5 separate regions of the Homo sapiens genome follow, and all the other regions are linked to region 3. The links are contacts of gene promoters, found by promoter capture Hi-C in blood cells and fetal thymus (Javierre and others, 2016). All regions are on one chromosome and are shown on one strand. The core of a region is centred on a gene start or on the middle of the fragment in contact, and the rest is flanking DNA. Distances in the headings are between cores, read along the strand shown.

What was found. Contacts are between HindIII fragments. The CHiCAGO score rates a contact against its expected background, and 5 or more counts as called.
Region 1: a contact is called between the fragment with the promoter of GMFB here and the fragment with the promoter of KTN1-AS1 in region 3, in 4 of 17 cell types (activated CD4 T cells, total CD8 T cells, naive CD4 T cells and 1 more). The highest score is 7.3, in activated CD4 T cells.
Region 2: the fragment with the promoter of CDKN3 here is called in contact with the fragment with the promoter of KTN1-AS1 in region 3 in 1 of 17 cell types (total CD8 T cells); the score reaches 6.0 in total CD8 T cells.
Region 4: a fragment that was not itself captured here is called in contact with the fragment with the promoter of KTN1-AS1 in region 3 in 2 of 17 cell types (non-activated CD4 T cells and M1 macrophages); the score reaches 5.5 in non-activated CD4 T cells.
Region 5: a fragment that was not itself captured here is called in contact with the fragment with the promoter of KTN1-AS1 in region 3 in 7 of 17 cell types (fetal thymus, total B cells, naive B cells and 4 more); the score reaches 9.3 in fetal thymus.

What each region holds. Positions count from the first base shown.
Region 1 is chr14:54,487,665-54,490,733 of GRCh38, reverse strand. It overlaps GMFB (glia maturation factor beta), which reads left to right and starts at 1,754. Exons shown (of 7, transcript NM_004124.3): 1 at 1,754-1,809. The coding sequence starts at 1,807. RefSeq lists a silencer at 1,672-2,071. The HindIII fragment of the contact is 2,730 bases long and covers 1-2,393 here.
Region 2 is chr14:54,395,592-54,398,528 of GRCh38, reverse strand. It overlaps CDKN3 (cyclin dependent kinase inhibitor 3), which reads right to left and starts at 1,522. Exons shown (of 8, transcript NM_005192.4): 1 at 1,452-1,522. The coding sequence starts at 1,460. The HindIII fragment of the contact is 7,211 bases long and covers 1-1,833 here.
Region 3 is chr14:55,578,603-55,581,493 of GRCh38, reverse strand. KTN1-AS1 (KTN1 antisense RNA 1) reads left to right here and starts at 1,402. Exons shown (of 3, transcript NR_027123.1): 1 at 1,402-1,558; 2 at 2,757-2,888. KTN1 (kinectin 1) reads right to left here and starts at 1,287. Exons shown (of 44, transcript NM_001079521.2): 1 at 1,140-1,287. RefSeq lists silencers at 1-263, 443-1,082, 1,143-1,402 and enhancers at 1,843-1,932, 1,943-2,062. The HindIII fragment of the contact is 5,026 bases long and covers 1-2,891 here.
Region 4 is chr14:57,255,389-57,258,159 of GRCh38, reverse strand. All of the region lies in intron 1 of EXOC5 (exocyst complex component 5), which reads left to right. Among named protein-coding and RNA genes, the nearest start is that of EXOC5, 12 kb to the left of the region's middle. The HindIII fragment of the contact is 5,789 bases long and covers 1-2,771 here.
Region 5 is chr14:56,579,987-56,582,892 of GRCh38, reverse strand. TMEM260 (transmembrane protein 260) reads right to left here. Exons shown (of 16, transcript NM_017799.4): 1 at 2,819-2,906. Among named protein-coding and RNA genes, the nearest start is that of TMEM260, 1.6 kb to the right of the region's middle. RefSeq lists a silencer at 2,808-2,906. The HindIII fragment of the contact is 4,901 bases long and covers 1-2,906 here.

The DNA.
Region 1 (3,069 bases), core at 505-3,004, 1.1 Mb after region 3:
GTCTTCCAGGCTTCAACTATTCCAAGTCCCTTCAAGTCTGTAGAACAGTCGGTGAGAGATTTCCATGCCCCCCGGGGTTAAGCAGGGATGACAACCCTGTTCAGCAGGAAGTAGCTTTAGAAGATAAGATCTTTGGCCCTTTCTCCTTAAGAATAAGGAAGGTAAAATCTTATAAGGGGAAATGAAAAACAGTAGAAATGGGGCTTGGCTTCAGCTCACCCACACTAGAGCATTTTTTTCATGCATTTCCACTCATGACAAACCCACACCACTACCTTACTGCTAATAGTCCTTTTATTTAAAGAATTCCAATGACTGGCCTTAGGAGATAACCAAGGTTGAGAGTGTCCCACCTTGGAGAGGAATGTTGAACAATTGATTCACAGCCTTGTTGCCGCAAACCAGACCATTGGGTGGCCCATTACTCAAGACAACCCTGGCAAACAGATAATGCTGACCTGCATAAACTACCCCTAATTTGTTGTGCTCTTTTAGGAGAGTCAGTCAGGGAATTCTCTCATTCTCTTATGCTGCCTCCCTTATGCTCCGGCATAAGCTCCAATGAAGCCTTGCCTGGAGAAACTCTTTTGGCCTCAGGTCAATTTGCATTGAGAGACCAAGAACCCATGGTCATAACAAAATGAGGTACTGCCCCAGGCAGTTTGTTTTATTGAAGGTACCTGTTGAATCCTAGAGCCTAAACTTTACTTCTCCCAAACCACTTTCTTCATGCATTCAAAACTGGACTTGTTCCACTAAGTCTGCATCTGGTACAGAGACTTCTTGATGTTTACTTAGGCAGTGGCCCATAAGAGTGCTCATTGAAACACCAATCATCATTCATTCATACTTCAATAAATAACTTGTATGGAGAAAAGAGGCTGGGCATGGTGGCTGACGCCTGTGATCCCAGCGCTTTGGGAGGCACACAGGAAGACTGTTTGTGGCCAGGAGTTCAAGACCAGCTTGGGCAATATAGGGAGACTCTATCTCTACAAAAAAATTTAAAAATTAGCCGGGTGTGTGGTGGCACACGGCTGTAGTCCCAGCTACTGGGGAGGCTGAGGTAGGAGGATTGCTTGAACCCAGGAGTTTGAGGCTGCTGTGAGCTATAATCGTGCTACTGCATTCCAGCCTGGGCAACAGAGCGAGACGAGAGAGAGAGAGAAGAAATGTGTGTGTGTGAGAGAAGAGAGAAGAAATGTGTGTGTGTGTGAGAGAGAAGAAATGTGTGTAAGAGAGAGAGGGAAAGGGGGAGGGAGAGAGAGAGAAAGAGAGAGAGAGAGAGAGAGAGATTGATTAACCAAGTCCTGGAAGGCAGCCGTGGTCAGAAGTGGGGTTCTGGAGAGGGTGGGAGGAAAGGAGGTGTGCCTAGATTTGAGGGAGATCAAATTTGGAAGGTAGGCTGCGGTCAGTACACACATTTACCATTGAAAACATTGATGTCACCATTAACATGCTCTCAGAGCTTGAAGACTGCGAAAAAGGTCCGGAGAACTGGCATGACTTTTAAGTATGCACCTTGGGTTTGTTTCTCACTTGCAGCCAGGCAGAGCGTCCTCCTCTAGAGGGAGCAGGGAAAAGAAAAAAAAAAAAAAAAAAAAAAAAAAAAAAATCAGGCGATCGCATTCTGTCTAATTTTGAGCCGCGCCTTTTGCCGTCCGCCATCACGTGCCGGCCCGCTGAGGCCGCGTTGATAGGTGGGGGCGACTGGGCCAGGCGCCGGGGCAGGAAGGGAGGCGGCCGCCGTGCCATTCTTAAAGGCGCCCGAGTGTAGGCGACAGGCCGCTGACGGCCGGAAGGAAAATGGTGAGTTGCCGCTGGGAGGGCGGGGGCCGGAGGGCTGGGCGAGCCGGCCAGCCGGGTTTTCCCGGTTTCCGGAGCCGGCGGCGGCGGGCAGCGCCCAGGAGGGCTCGGCGGCCGCTTCCGCTCCCAGCAGCTGGCCAGTGCCCATAGCTAGAGTACTTGGCCTCTGCCGCCGCCACCACGCCTCAGGGCAGCATCTTCCAGCTGGGCCCGGGGTGGACCCGCCCAGCGGGCCATGGGACTAGGGTGCGGCCACGAGCAGGGGGGTTGGGGAGGCCCCACGCCAGGTCCTTCTGGTTGGAGGGCTTCAGCTTCTGAGCTGTAGGTTGGAGGGAAAGGGGTCTGCCCCATCGGAGGGCTCCCTCAATTCCTGCTTTCCCTGCCAGGGCCGTGGCCAGGTTCCAGGGGTTGGTGGGCCCCGAGCATCTTCCACCTGGCGGCGTTTTGGGGGAGGACTCGAATTCCGATTGAATTCTCTCGGCCTCACCTTAGCTTCTTTCTCTCTGCTCCTTTCCCTAGCTTCCTACAGAGGATTTCTCCTTATCTTTGCTTTCCTATGGCAGTTGGAAACCTTTCGACCCAAAGCTTTGGCACTGGGCCTTAAAGTAATTGTCAATAACTTTAGTTTTGTTGGTTCTGGGGGCTGTGGCTTCTGTTCTTACATGGGATGGACCCCAAGCATAAAAATAAAGTGGAAAATTAAATAAATCGCCATCAAGGATCTTTTGGATCCATCCCATTAGGTTTTAAAATATGGGTAAATTTCATTAGAAACAACAAAACACTGCTCTCTGTGACCATCCACTCAATTCTCAGCCCACTTTCATCGAATAGATCTTGTCATGGTCACTGAATCGAATGGATTCTTTTCAGTTTTCGTCTTCTCTGACCTTTTAGCTGCATTCCAGAGTGTTATACTCTCTTGTTTTTGAAGCATTCTCTTCCTTCATTCTTCCCCTTTGGCTTCTGGGATACAGAGCTCCTCCTACTTCTCCTATTGGTCCATCTGTTTCCCTTTCAGACTATTCTCCTTTCCCTGGACAATGCTCGAAGGAGTCCCAGGTTTCATCCTAATCCTTCATTTTCCATTCTGTATTCTTCATCCTAAACTATGGCTTCAGTTACCATCTATATTCAGATGACTTGTGAATTTACAGCTCAGAAGACCTTGCTTCTGAGATCCAATCCAGATCTGTATGTACTTTTTTTTCTTTGAGTCGGAGTTTCACTCTTGTGGCCCAGGCTGGAGTGCAATGGCGGGAT
Region 2 (2,937 bases), core at 273-2,772, 1.2 Mb after region 3:
TGCCCCTTGTTCACCCCAGAATTAGACAAATGTATCCACCCAGTCACAGGTGGCCATGGACAGTCTGGGGCTCCTGTGTGCCAGAGAGTGGACCAGAAAGCACCTTCTGCAGGCAGGCAGGTAGATCCCAAGAAAGAAGGAAAGAAAAAGTTGAGATACTGGTGTTCAGTTCCTTCCAAACTCGGGGATCAGATAACTCAATGGGGACAGGTGGAGAAAGAGGCCAGGAGTGAAGGACAGCTGATGTCCCTCCACATGGCAACATAGGGATTAGCAATTGTAAGCACCTAATGCTCTTTCTAGCTCTGAAGCTATATTCTACAACGGTCTTGGTACTAGAAGATCACAGGACGGCTAATTTAGGCTACGGACTTTTTTTTCTTTCTTTCTTTTATCTTGAGATAGGGTTTTGCTCTGTCGCCCAGGCTGGAGGGCAGTGGCGTGATATCCGCTCACTGCAACCTCTGCCTCTTGGGTTCAAGCTATTTGCGTGGCTCAGCCTCCCGAGTAGCTGGGACTACAGGCGTGCACTACCACGCTCAGCTAATGTTTGTATTTTTAGTAGAGACGGGGTTTCACCGTGTTGGCTAGGCTTGTCTCCAACTCCTGGCCTCAAGTGATCCGCCCGCCTTGGCCTCCCAAAGTGTTGGGATTACAGGCGCGAGACACCACCCGGCCCTAGGCTATGGATTTCTGTTGCTTTGGCTCTATCTGAAGTATTATAATCAACTGCACCCAAAGGAAAGGCTTCCAGTAGGTTGTCAAGCCGGGCAGTAGGAAATATGGGTTAGGTGGGGGATCTTCAGCTCCTTGCCTGCATCTGTTTTTTCTTTAAAGCAACTTTGATGATTCATATTTCAAATTTGTGTGGCCCATTCACCAGGTTTATTAATCCTAACAGAGCTGGACGTTTCTGCTTCCCCAGGCCCTGTGATTCTGAACGTCACGGGAAAAGAGCAGCATTGCCAGGTGGCCCTGGGGCATGGTGACAGCGGTGGTGTCGCCCACAAGCCGCGGCGTGGCATTCGTACTCAAGGTTTCCCCAGGCCCTGTGGGCGCAGGTAGCGCCCGGCCACCCTTCGGGGCTGGGGTATCGCGCCCACTCATCGCTGACACTCAAGCTCTTCGGCTCGGTTTCCTCGGTACAACGAGGCTCGGCCCTCTTTGGCTGGGCGGCTGGGAGGCTTATGAGACCCCGCAGGGGACAGGTGACAGCCCACAGCAGGTGCACAGCGAATGTCCGTCTTTCCTTCGTCGGCCACCGACCCTGCTCCTTCGTCTCTCGTGCCCGTGCTGGGCCCGTGCGAGTCACCTCCCCGACCCGCAGAACGGTTACGGCGCCAGTCGCACTGCTACCAGGCTAGGGCTGCCCTCCGGCCCAGGATCGGGTCCCCGGGACCGCTTGCGTCCCTGCCGCCTCGCTCCTCCAAACCCCAGCACGTCCGACTCACCGGCTTCATCGCTGGCCGCCCCACGTCGAGACCAGTGCCGCCTCCCTCTGCAGCGCCGGCGACTCACCGGTGCCCCGGCCGAGCCCGCGCCCCGCAGCTTAGCTCACTGGTTCGTCCTTCTGTGAGGTGGGCGCGGCGTCTTCCAGCAACCAATCAGATCCGCTTCTGGTTTCTTACTCCGCCTTTGGGTGGCCGAAGACTCGGCCTCTAATCGCTGACTGGTTCCTAGAAGACCTTTGAAAGACGCGCGGGAGGCGGGCCCTGTGGGACGTTGATTGGCTGGGAGGGCGCCCTCCTCCCGCCAGTTGGGAGAGTGCAGGGGGCGGAGGCGGGGCGGAAGAGTCAGAAGGCGGCCCTAGCGCTTGGGGGACGCTGGAAAGCTTTGCTTCTTGATGGCAGGATGTCAGCGTGGTCCATACGGTTGGGAGGTGATTTTTTTTTTTTTCTTGAGACGGAGTTCGCTCTTGTTGCCCAGGCTGGAGTGCAATGGCGCGATCTCGGCTCACCGCCACCTCCGCCTCCCGGATTCAAGCGAGTCTCCGCCTCACCCTCCCGAGTAGCTGGGATTACAAGGATGTGCCACCAAGCCTGACTAATTTTTGTATTTTTTGTAGAGACGGGGTTTCTCCATGTTGGTCAGGCTGGTCTCGAACCCGGGTTGGGAGTTTTTGTGTTTGTGACGGAAGTCTTACTATGTTGCCCAGGCTGGCCTCGAACTCCTGTCCTCAAGCAATCCTCCCGCCTTAGCCTCCCTTGTAGCGGCTACGGTAGGGAGTTTTTGTTTCTTTAAGTTGTATTTTTATTTTTTATTTTTTAAGGGCTCAGGGAAGCACTGTATTGGATCGTCACATGAAAAACATCACATAGACTTTGTAATTATATCTAGACATACAAATACTAGGGAAAAAACTAAAAATTTAGAGTATAAACATATTTTATATGCTTGAAGTTTTAGTTTATCGTTCCAGAAACTAGACAAGTTACAGTGTAGATCAATATTCCTGTCCCCCAAATATGAATTAAATTATATTGTGTGAAAGGGAAATTATAAAATGCCAGGTAAGATAGGTCTAAGGGCCAGTGTGTCTACATAATTAGCTGTAATCTTTTAAAAATGTGAGTATTTCTCCGCCTTCTCCAGTCCCCATTTAACTAGCCATGGGAAAGGAAGTCGCCTGGAGCAGATCTGAGAAAAATATGCAGAAATTTCAACCCCTGATTCATGTTGTGAAAGCCAATGGGTATAGAGCTATTAGAAGGAATTCCTTAGTAAAGAAGGTACCACAGTTTGATTTAGAGACTGTATTAGCTAGTCATGGTTGCCCAGAGATAAAGAATGAATAGGATGTGTATATATGGATATAGAAACAGATTTATTTTAAGGAATTGGCTCCTGTGCTTGTGGAAGCTTGGAGAGTCCAAAATCTGATGGGGGGAGGCCAGTGCGCTGGAGACTCAGGAAAGGCTGTACTTCGAGTCCAAAAGC
Region 3 (2,891 bases), core at 153-2,652:
AAGGCTTTCCACAAAGTCATCACACACACACACTCACACACACACACACACCTTAACAGTTAACTTCAACCGTAGCTCTTTAAGCACTACTAACTTAAATAGCGGCTAAGGAATCCGTTTGCCAACACAGTTCTGAATTTAGATTCCTCCTTCCTCCCACAGGAAAGAAGGGCCAACACTGAACAGCTTACTTTCAACCTAACCTAGTCAAGGTGCAACTGGGGCCGGCTGGGACGCCGCTGCCCGCGTCCGGGGCTGCCCACATCTAGTGCACCCAGCGCCTTCACCGCCAGCATGCGGGGCTGCACATCCCACACCAGACGTATGGCTGAGAGCCAGACGACTTCTCTAGACTTCCCGCGTAGTTTTCCGGCGAGGTCCCCAAGGCCAAAAATCTCACTTTTGGAAACTGAAGGGGTCAGGCCGAATCGCTAGGACACACCCCTCGGGGACAGGAAGGGATAACTTCGCCGGTGTCGAGAGTGGTCCATGGATTTTTCCAAAGTCCCCCCTCATGCTGCTTTCCGTGCCCAACCGCCTCCCGCCCTGACCTGGGGACTCGCAAAGGGCAGCGGGAGGGGCGCCGGGGAAGGGGGCGAGCGCCCAGACCGCCGGAGGCAGCGGCGAGGACTGGAACTCCAGCATGGCGTAAGTGTGGCCCAGCTCCGGCCCGGGGACGCCGCCGGAGACGCGCTGCCTCCGTCCACCGGCCGAGGAGGCGGTAATCCGCCTTCCCTCCCGGGGGCCCTCAGGCTTGGCTAAAAATAGGTGCCTCGGTCACCCCAGGGCCCGCTCGGGTCGACCTCGCCTTCGGGAGAGTCGTCCTTGGGGAGGGTGGGGGGTGTCCCTCGGCCGCGCCCCGGGTGCCGCGACAGAGCCGGGGTCGGGCCCAGAGCGGCCCCGCGAGGCCGAGGAGGTCCCTCCGAGCCCGCCCCCTGCGGCGTCCCGGCCCCAACAAGAGCCCCGCGGCGGCAACCGGATGCCCGAGGCCTACCCAGCGGGCGGCGTCCGGGCCCCGCGGCCGCGCCCCCCCGCCCGGCGCGGCCCTCCCGCCTGCCCCAGGACCCCGCGGCCGGCGCCGCCTCCCCCCGCGCTCCCCGCCGCCGGCGCCCGTCCCGGTGCGGCCTGCTCTCCCTCACCCTGTGCGGCCGGGAAAGGAGACCGGGAAGACGCGGCGGCGCCGGCACTACAGCCCGGGCCGCCCGCTCCGAGGCGCCGCCGCCGCCGCCGCCGCCGCCGCAGTCGCTCAGGTGCCGTCGCGCCGCTCGGCAGGAAACGGGCGGCTTCGGGGCGGGGCGGGGCGGACCCGGCACGTCCTGGCGTCTGGGCCGGCGGCGCCGGGAGACCGGCCCCTTAAAGGGACAGCCGCCGGCCCGCCTCTGCCTCCGCGCGCCTGCCCACGCGCTCCGGTACTCGCTGCTCGCGGCTGGCCGGCTCGGGATTCCGGGCTTTCTTCCCGAGACCGCGTCCCCCAGCTGGGCCGAAGGTGGACGCTCAGGGGCTGGAGGCTCAGCGGAATCCCCTGCGTTCAGTAGCCCCGCTCTCCCCTGTCCCGAAGGTTGGTCTCGTCTCGCGCGGCCCTCCCTCCAGGGCACCACCTGGCTCCCCACGCCTTTTAACTTCAGCAAACGGCACTAGATTTACCCCCTGACTATCCCAGATTTCCCCCAGAAATTACTGGAAAACGACATCCCCCGTCCCTTTCTCCAGGGGATCTCTCTGAAATCTCCTTCGGGCAACGCTAGCTACAAACGGAGAAAGAAATTAGAAAGCGACCCAAATAATGGTCGGGCGCGGTGGTTCACGCCTGTAACCCCAGTACTTTGGGAGGCCAAGGCAGGCGGATCACCTGAGGTCAGGAGTTCGAGACCAGCCTGGCCAACATATAGTAAAACCCGTCTCTGCCAAAAAAAGTACAAAAAATTAGCTGGGCATAGTGGCGCACGCCTGTAGCCCCAGCTACTTGGGAAGCTGAGACAGGAGAATCGCAGGAATCTAGGAGGCGGAGGTTGCAGTGAGCCGAGATCTCGCCACTGCACTCCAGCCTGGGCGAGAGAGTAAGACTCTCCGTTTCTCTCAAAAAAAAAAAAAAAAAAAGGAAAGAAAAGAAAGCGACCCAAATGAGTTGTGTGCAAACATTATGAAAGTGTTGTGACTGCCAGCTGGTAGCCATTTATGAAGCCGGGGTAAAAATCTAGAAACTGCTGCGCGAGGAGGGATGGGCCCGGATCTCTCCTTATTCGTTTGCTCTTTGCTGAAAGGATGGCAGCGATCCTCCCCGTCCACTGGCAAGTGAGTTTCGTGTGGATTGTTTACCGATGATCAATCTCTCACAGGAGGCCAGGCACTGCCCCACTACATGTACAAAACACTCCAAGCTGTCCGCAAATGTTATGAAGGCTTAAAATAATCCTAACGATTCCAGACTGTGGATAGAGATAGAAAAAATTAGGACTCACCACCACCACCTCGCCCTACATCTGACAAAGTGGGAACAGAAGCAGTTAAGGAATGAACAGCAGAACCGTTTCTACACCAACAGAATTTCCTGTACATGGGCTGGTTAAAAGTATCCATACTTTTTATTCTAATCATTTCTAAGTTTTCTAGAGCACCTCCAAAATACAAATGAAAACTGCGCAGTGTATAGTGGCCTGAGATATTGAGAATTCTGCCAGTCTTCAGTCACCGTGTTCTCCACAGATGCATTGTCTTATTTTAACTCCAGAGGCGTCCTCTTTTTTCTTTCTCATTAGGATTACTCTGCCCCTCAGCGGTTCCAGTGCCCTCAAAGCAATCTGTCTCTGAAGTACTGGCTATCTTCTGAGCGTGTGCCAGAAGATCCAGCTTTGTTGAAAAGCGAAGCCGTTAGTCCCTTAATACAAAGGGTA
Region 4 (2,771 bases), core at 101-2,600, 1.7 Mb before region 3:
TTCTAGATCCTTGAGGAATCGTCACACTGTCTCTCACAATGACAAACATCATATTTTAATGTTACAATTGGTAACATTTGTAAAGCATATAAAATCAGTTTAATGGAGCAATATAACAACCAATTATGTAAAGCTAAATTTCATATGGTAGTATCTTAGTGCATAGTTCTAGATTTTTGTTTTGGCTTGGTAATTTTTGCTTTTGATTACTATAGCAAAACAAAGTGAAGCTAAACCTTTGTCAGCCTTATAAAATTCTGAAGGATTTAAAAATTTTTTTACAGGTATTTGTATTACAGGGAATTGTTTGAGAAGTCTTTTGGGAGGACTTGGTCATTTGGAGGTCTTAGGATTTGTTAATTTGGCTTTTTGTCACTGTAAGCGCCTTTGCAGCAAGATAAAGTATTAGAAAGCAAGGCATTAGGATTTATTTGCTTATATAAGCAGAATTTTTAAATTTTTATTTATTTATTTATTTTTTATTTTTTGCTTTTTTGGAACTTCCATCCCTTGGGGATCAATTGCTGACTTCTCGTAAACCCTTGTGATAATTTGTCTCTGAGGATAAAATGTGTACTTTGCTTTCAGGACACTGACCTCTTATTTTCTTCCACCTACACTGGTGCCTCTTGCTTTCTTTTGTTGGATTGTTTTCCTGCTCTTATCTCCAAATCTTGGCATGCCTTTCTTCCTCGTAGATCTCAACCAGTCCTTAAGTAACCATCTATATGTTGATGATTCAAATTTTGTGAAGCTCCAGCTTCTTCCGTGTAGTAAAAATTTGTTTTTCCATCTATGTGCTCTATATTTCTCTTACATATCTAATAGGCATCTACACTTTAACATATGTGGAACAAAACTCTTGTTTCACTGCTCCCTCATCCATCTCCTTCCCTGATCTTCCCATCTCAGTAATTAGCACCACCATTCACAAAGTTGTCCTGGCTGCAAACCTCTACCTCAATGAGTAATCTTTTATTCCTTTTTTTTCTTTCTCCACATATCCAGTCTATCAGCAACTTATATGAATGCATGCCTTAAGACGTCATGAACCTATTTCTCAGCACCTCATCCACTGCCACTTTCATCTGAGTCACTGCCATCTCTTGACTGGACTACTAAGGTGTTGCAGGTTGGGTCTTTTGGGAAGCAGACTTTGAGACAGTTTAGTATGCAGAATATTTATTAGGAAGTAACCTTGGATGAACATTTATGAGGGGCAGAGCAAGGATACAAGATTGAGCATGTGGAGAAGTAGAGTTACAGTTTTCGTCCAGTGGCAGTGTTGATGGCTTCTGTGGGGAGGTCTGAAACTAAAATGACCTGTCAGAGTTGTCCTGCTTTGGACCAAAGTGGTCTGGCCCTTATACTCCCATCTTAATCAGTCATTGGGTATGGATCACATTGGGAAAGACATGACATTGGGTGAAGTGTCTCTTTGCATCTGATGAGGTCCCTGAAAATCTGCCCATGAAGGCTTTTTGTTGACAGCACTATTAGCAGTTAGAGCAAGTCCCTTCTTGAAGGGCAATCTGGATGGCACATTATTGTGTTCACCACAGACAACCCTTGTTCCACTATTAGACTTTACTTCTTCATATACATTTGGGGAGCAGCTCTTCTGACATTCTGGTTGGGTCTCATCCTGGAGGAAAATTAGAAGAAGAAGGCTAGTGAGATGAACTGTGGCCCCCACTGCTATAGCTGGTCTCGGAGTTGCAACTGATATTCACTGTCTCTCACCTCTACTATCGATTGTAACTCTGCCTTACCTTCAACTGGTACCTCTGATGTTCTTGGTATCTTAACTGGTTATAATACCCTTTTTAGGCCAGGGTTGTAACACTTGTCCATACATTTTCAGAATTGGTTGAGGGGGTGTTAAGAGATCCCTGAGAGGATCATCTGTGTGCCAAACATACTGCTCTCTGCCCCCATTGTGTATTAGCAGCCCTGCCTCATCCTGATCATTATGGTTGATTGCCCTAGCCAAAGATGATCACTCCTCTTCTTATTCCCTAGATATAAAGAGACAATATGACCAGGCAGTACTTGTAGTTATAGTTTAATGACACTCTTACTATGTTCGTAGGCAAAAGTGTTCCTTCTTTGGGCACCAAGACTATTCCGGAAGAACCTAGAGTTACAGGGATCCCAAGCACAAACTGGGAGTCATGATAAGTGAACCCACTTTCTGCTTTTACCTCTTGTTGCCAGACTCATGTGTTTTTCCTATGGGAGTCACAGCATCATATAAAGCCTTTTAATTCAGAATATATACTGCATCTTGGAGAATAGTGCTTCCTTTTTTTTTTTTTTTTGCTTTTGGAGACGGAGTCTTGCTCAGTCGCCCAGGCTGGAGTACAGTGGTGTGATCTTGGCTCACTGCAACTTCTCCCTCCTGGGTTGAAGCAATTCTCCTACCTCAGCTTCCCGAGTAGCTAGGACTACAGGTGCCCACCACCAACCCAGCTAATTTTTTGTATTTTAGTAGAGACAGGGTTTCACTGTATTGCCCAGGCTGGTCTCGAACTCCTGAGCTCCGGCCTGAGCCACCACACCCGATCAGTGCATCATTTTAATAGAGTATGCCCTCTGAACTGGTGCTTCAGCTGTGCCTTCATCAGGGTGTTCCAGTGCTCTGTTAGTCTGCCTACCTCTGGTTGGTGTGGTTTATGATATGACCAGTGAATCCCATGGTTACCTCCTTTGCTGTAAACTGGGTGCCTGGGTCCTTTGGTGTGATATGGTATGTGGAGTCCTGTGCCAGA
Region 5 (2,906 bases), core at 197-2,696, 1.0 Mb before region 3:
AACTAAAATCGAAATAGAAAAGATGTCCCCATTCAACGTCTCTAAATGTAACCTTGATAAAGATCTAAAGGGAAATACTACTCTTAAATTGATTGTGATAAAGAGGAAGGGAATAGTAAAAAAACCTCGAGCTTCCCGAGTCTTGGCTTTCTCCCAACCCTTTACATGAAAGGTTCCTCAGTTGTGTCTACCTGCATCAGAATTAACCTGCTTTTTAAAAATGAAGATTCCTTGCCCACACCTCCAAATTCCATAATCTACTAAGACCCACTTGCACTGGGGGCTCAAGTTTCCCAGGTAATTCTGAAGTACGTTCCTGTCTGAGAACCACGGCTTTGTTGTCTGCAATACAAACTAATGGCAAGCCCAGAGTTGTCAGCAGATGCTTAACCTTTACAAAAACCAGCTCCCTTTATATCATACTTCTCAATATTAATTAGACTAGACTGTCACACATCACATCTGTTAAAGACAGTATCTTTGAAATAAACTCACGTACAAACTAATTTAGTGAAGGCCAGATTCCTACCCCCTCCCCGAAAAGCACCACAAGCACCCTGCCCATAAATGAACTGTGTGTGTCAAGTGGTACAAAAAATAATTTTGGCAAGACGACACAATGTGATGAATCTATGGAGTAAAATGTAAGACTTATCAGGAAGAAGAATACATGCTTTATACTGGTTTTGAGATGTGTTCTGTTTATTGATGAAAATATAATTCATAAACATTCAAGAATAGTGCATTCAACATGTAAACACAATTATCAAATATACGATAAAGCAAATTTTCCATATTGGCATATACTTGGAAAACAGTTTATCATTCCCAAAAATGAACATAAAAATATTAGAAGCAACCACTATTTAACATCAAACCAAACAAAATTAAAGCACCTAAAGTTTGGTAACTCAAGGTGAATACACAACTTTATTCTTTTAGGAAAAAATAAAATACAGTATTAATAAAGGCAAGGCAATAATCATGATTTTAAATAAATTTTAAACATCACTACATATGTGATGGTGGATTTAGAAAAGAATTTCATGAAATGTTTTGACGAAAAGTAGAGGTTAAGGGGGCATATTCTGAAGTCAATATACTTTTCTTTTCCTGATTTCTCTACTTTGTGTGACTTTGGGCATAGCTTAGCCTTAGTTTTCCCATTTATAAAAGGAAAATAATAATTGCACCTACTTTTAAGGGTAGCTGGGAGGGTTAAAACAACAACCCATATAAAGCACTTGGAACAGTGCCTGGCACATAGTAAGTGCCCAACAAACGTCAGTTATTATAAATCTCACTCCCATCCTTCACACTCAACCAACCATAAGTAGCTGTCAATCTTTTTATTTTTTTACAAGTAACAGAACTACCTAACCTCTGAATAATGCTCTCCAGCACCAAAACTCACAACTATAAAGTTACTTCCATTATGAAATACCAATCTTGGTAACACTGTACAGAAACTCCCTACTACACGAATGAAACACTATCCCTACTTGTGCAACAGGACCTGAAAGAAGAAAGGTAACAATTTGAAGATGTAACATCAAAGATCTTCAACGTGGTAGGCAGCCCTAAATATGATCCCCACTAATCCCCAAGTCCTGATATTCTCACCTGTGTAATCCTTCCCCCTTGAATATGGGTTGGGTTTACTGACGAAGTTCCAGGAATAAAATGCAGAAGTGGTATATCACTTACAGTATTAGGTTACAAAATGACAGAGCTGTCAGACAGAGAGGTGTCCTTCATCTTTTTCTTGACAGAAGTCAGTTAACTTATGGAGACCCACATAGCAAAGAACTAGATTGCGTTTCTCCCCAAATTGAGCCTTGAGAAGACCGCAGCCCCATCGCACACCATGACAGCAACCTTTTTCTGAGTACGAGCATCTAGCTTAAACGGCACCCAGACTCCTGATTTACAAAAACGGGAGACGATAAACGTTTGCTGTTTAAGCTGCTCAATTTGGGGATCACTAGTCATGCAGCAAAAACTGCTTCTTCAGTCCATAGGTTCACCACCTGAAATTACAGCACTATTCTGACAAAATTACTGGCCATGATATGGCATTATTGAATCCAAAAACAAAACATGGATCTTGTTTCTTGCATCAAATACAAAACAATTAGTGTGATTTAAGGGCCAATGAGTCATGCTTTTCTTTTTCATAGAAACAGCCGCACCTGGCTTCCACCTTTTTAAGAGTTCTCCTGCAAATATTCTGCATGGCTAGTTCCTTCTCAATATTCAGGTTTCAACTAAAACACCACCTCTTCAGAGGTCTTTCCTGAATAGTCATTCGGAAGGACCCACTACTTACCCCCACTCTCAATCATATTTCCCTCCTACTGTCTCCATAACTTATCACCAGTGAATATGCTGTTTATTCATTAACTTGTGTATTGTCTAACCGCACTGGAACACTAGCAATTATCTGTTCGCCACTACTGTTCTTTTGTTTGAAACATAATAAGGACACCGTGAATAATATCTGTGGACTAAAAAAGACTGAAAGTAAATACTCAGGACCAGGATAAAAGATCTGGGGAAGTGGAGAGGTCGATAAGCCCCACCAGGCGAAACCAACAATACGCCCCATCTCGAAAACCTGAGAACTAAAGAAACCACAACGACAGGAATGGAAACAGAAGTGGGCTCTGGAACACACAATAGTGCGCTGTGCACAGGGGGGTGGATGGAGGCCCAGAGCTGACCAGACCGAATGCCAAGAGCAGGGGCCAGACGCAGACCCTGCCCGTTCTGGGACCAGGGGAGAGGGACAGAAGGGGCAACCCTGCGAGTACTTTACCGGAGTCTCCCCCCGGTACCGAAGGGGGCAGGGTGAAGGTGAACACTGCGGCCACGGCGGCGAACACCGCCACGCCGCCGCGGATGCC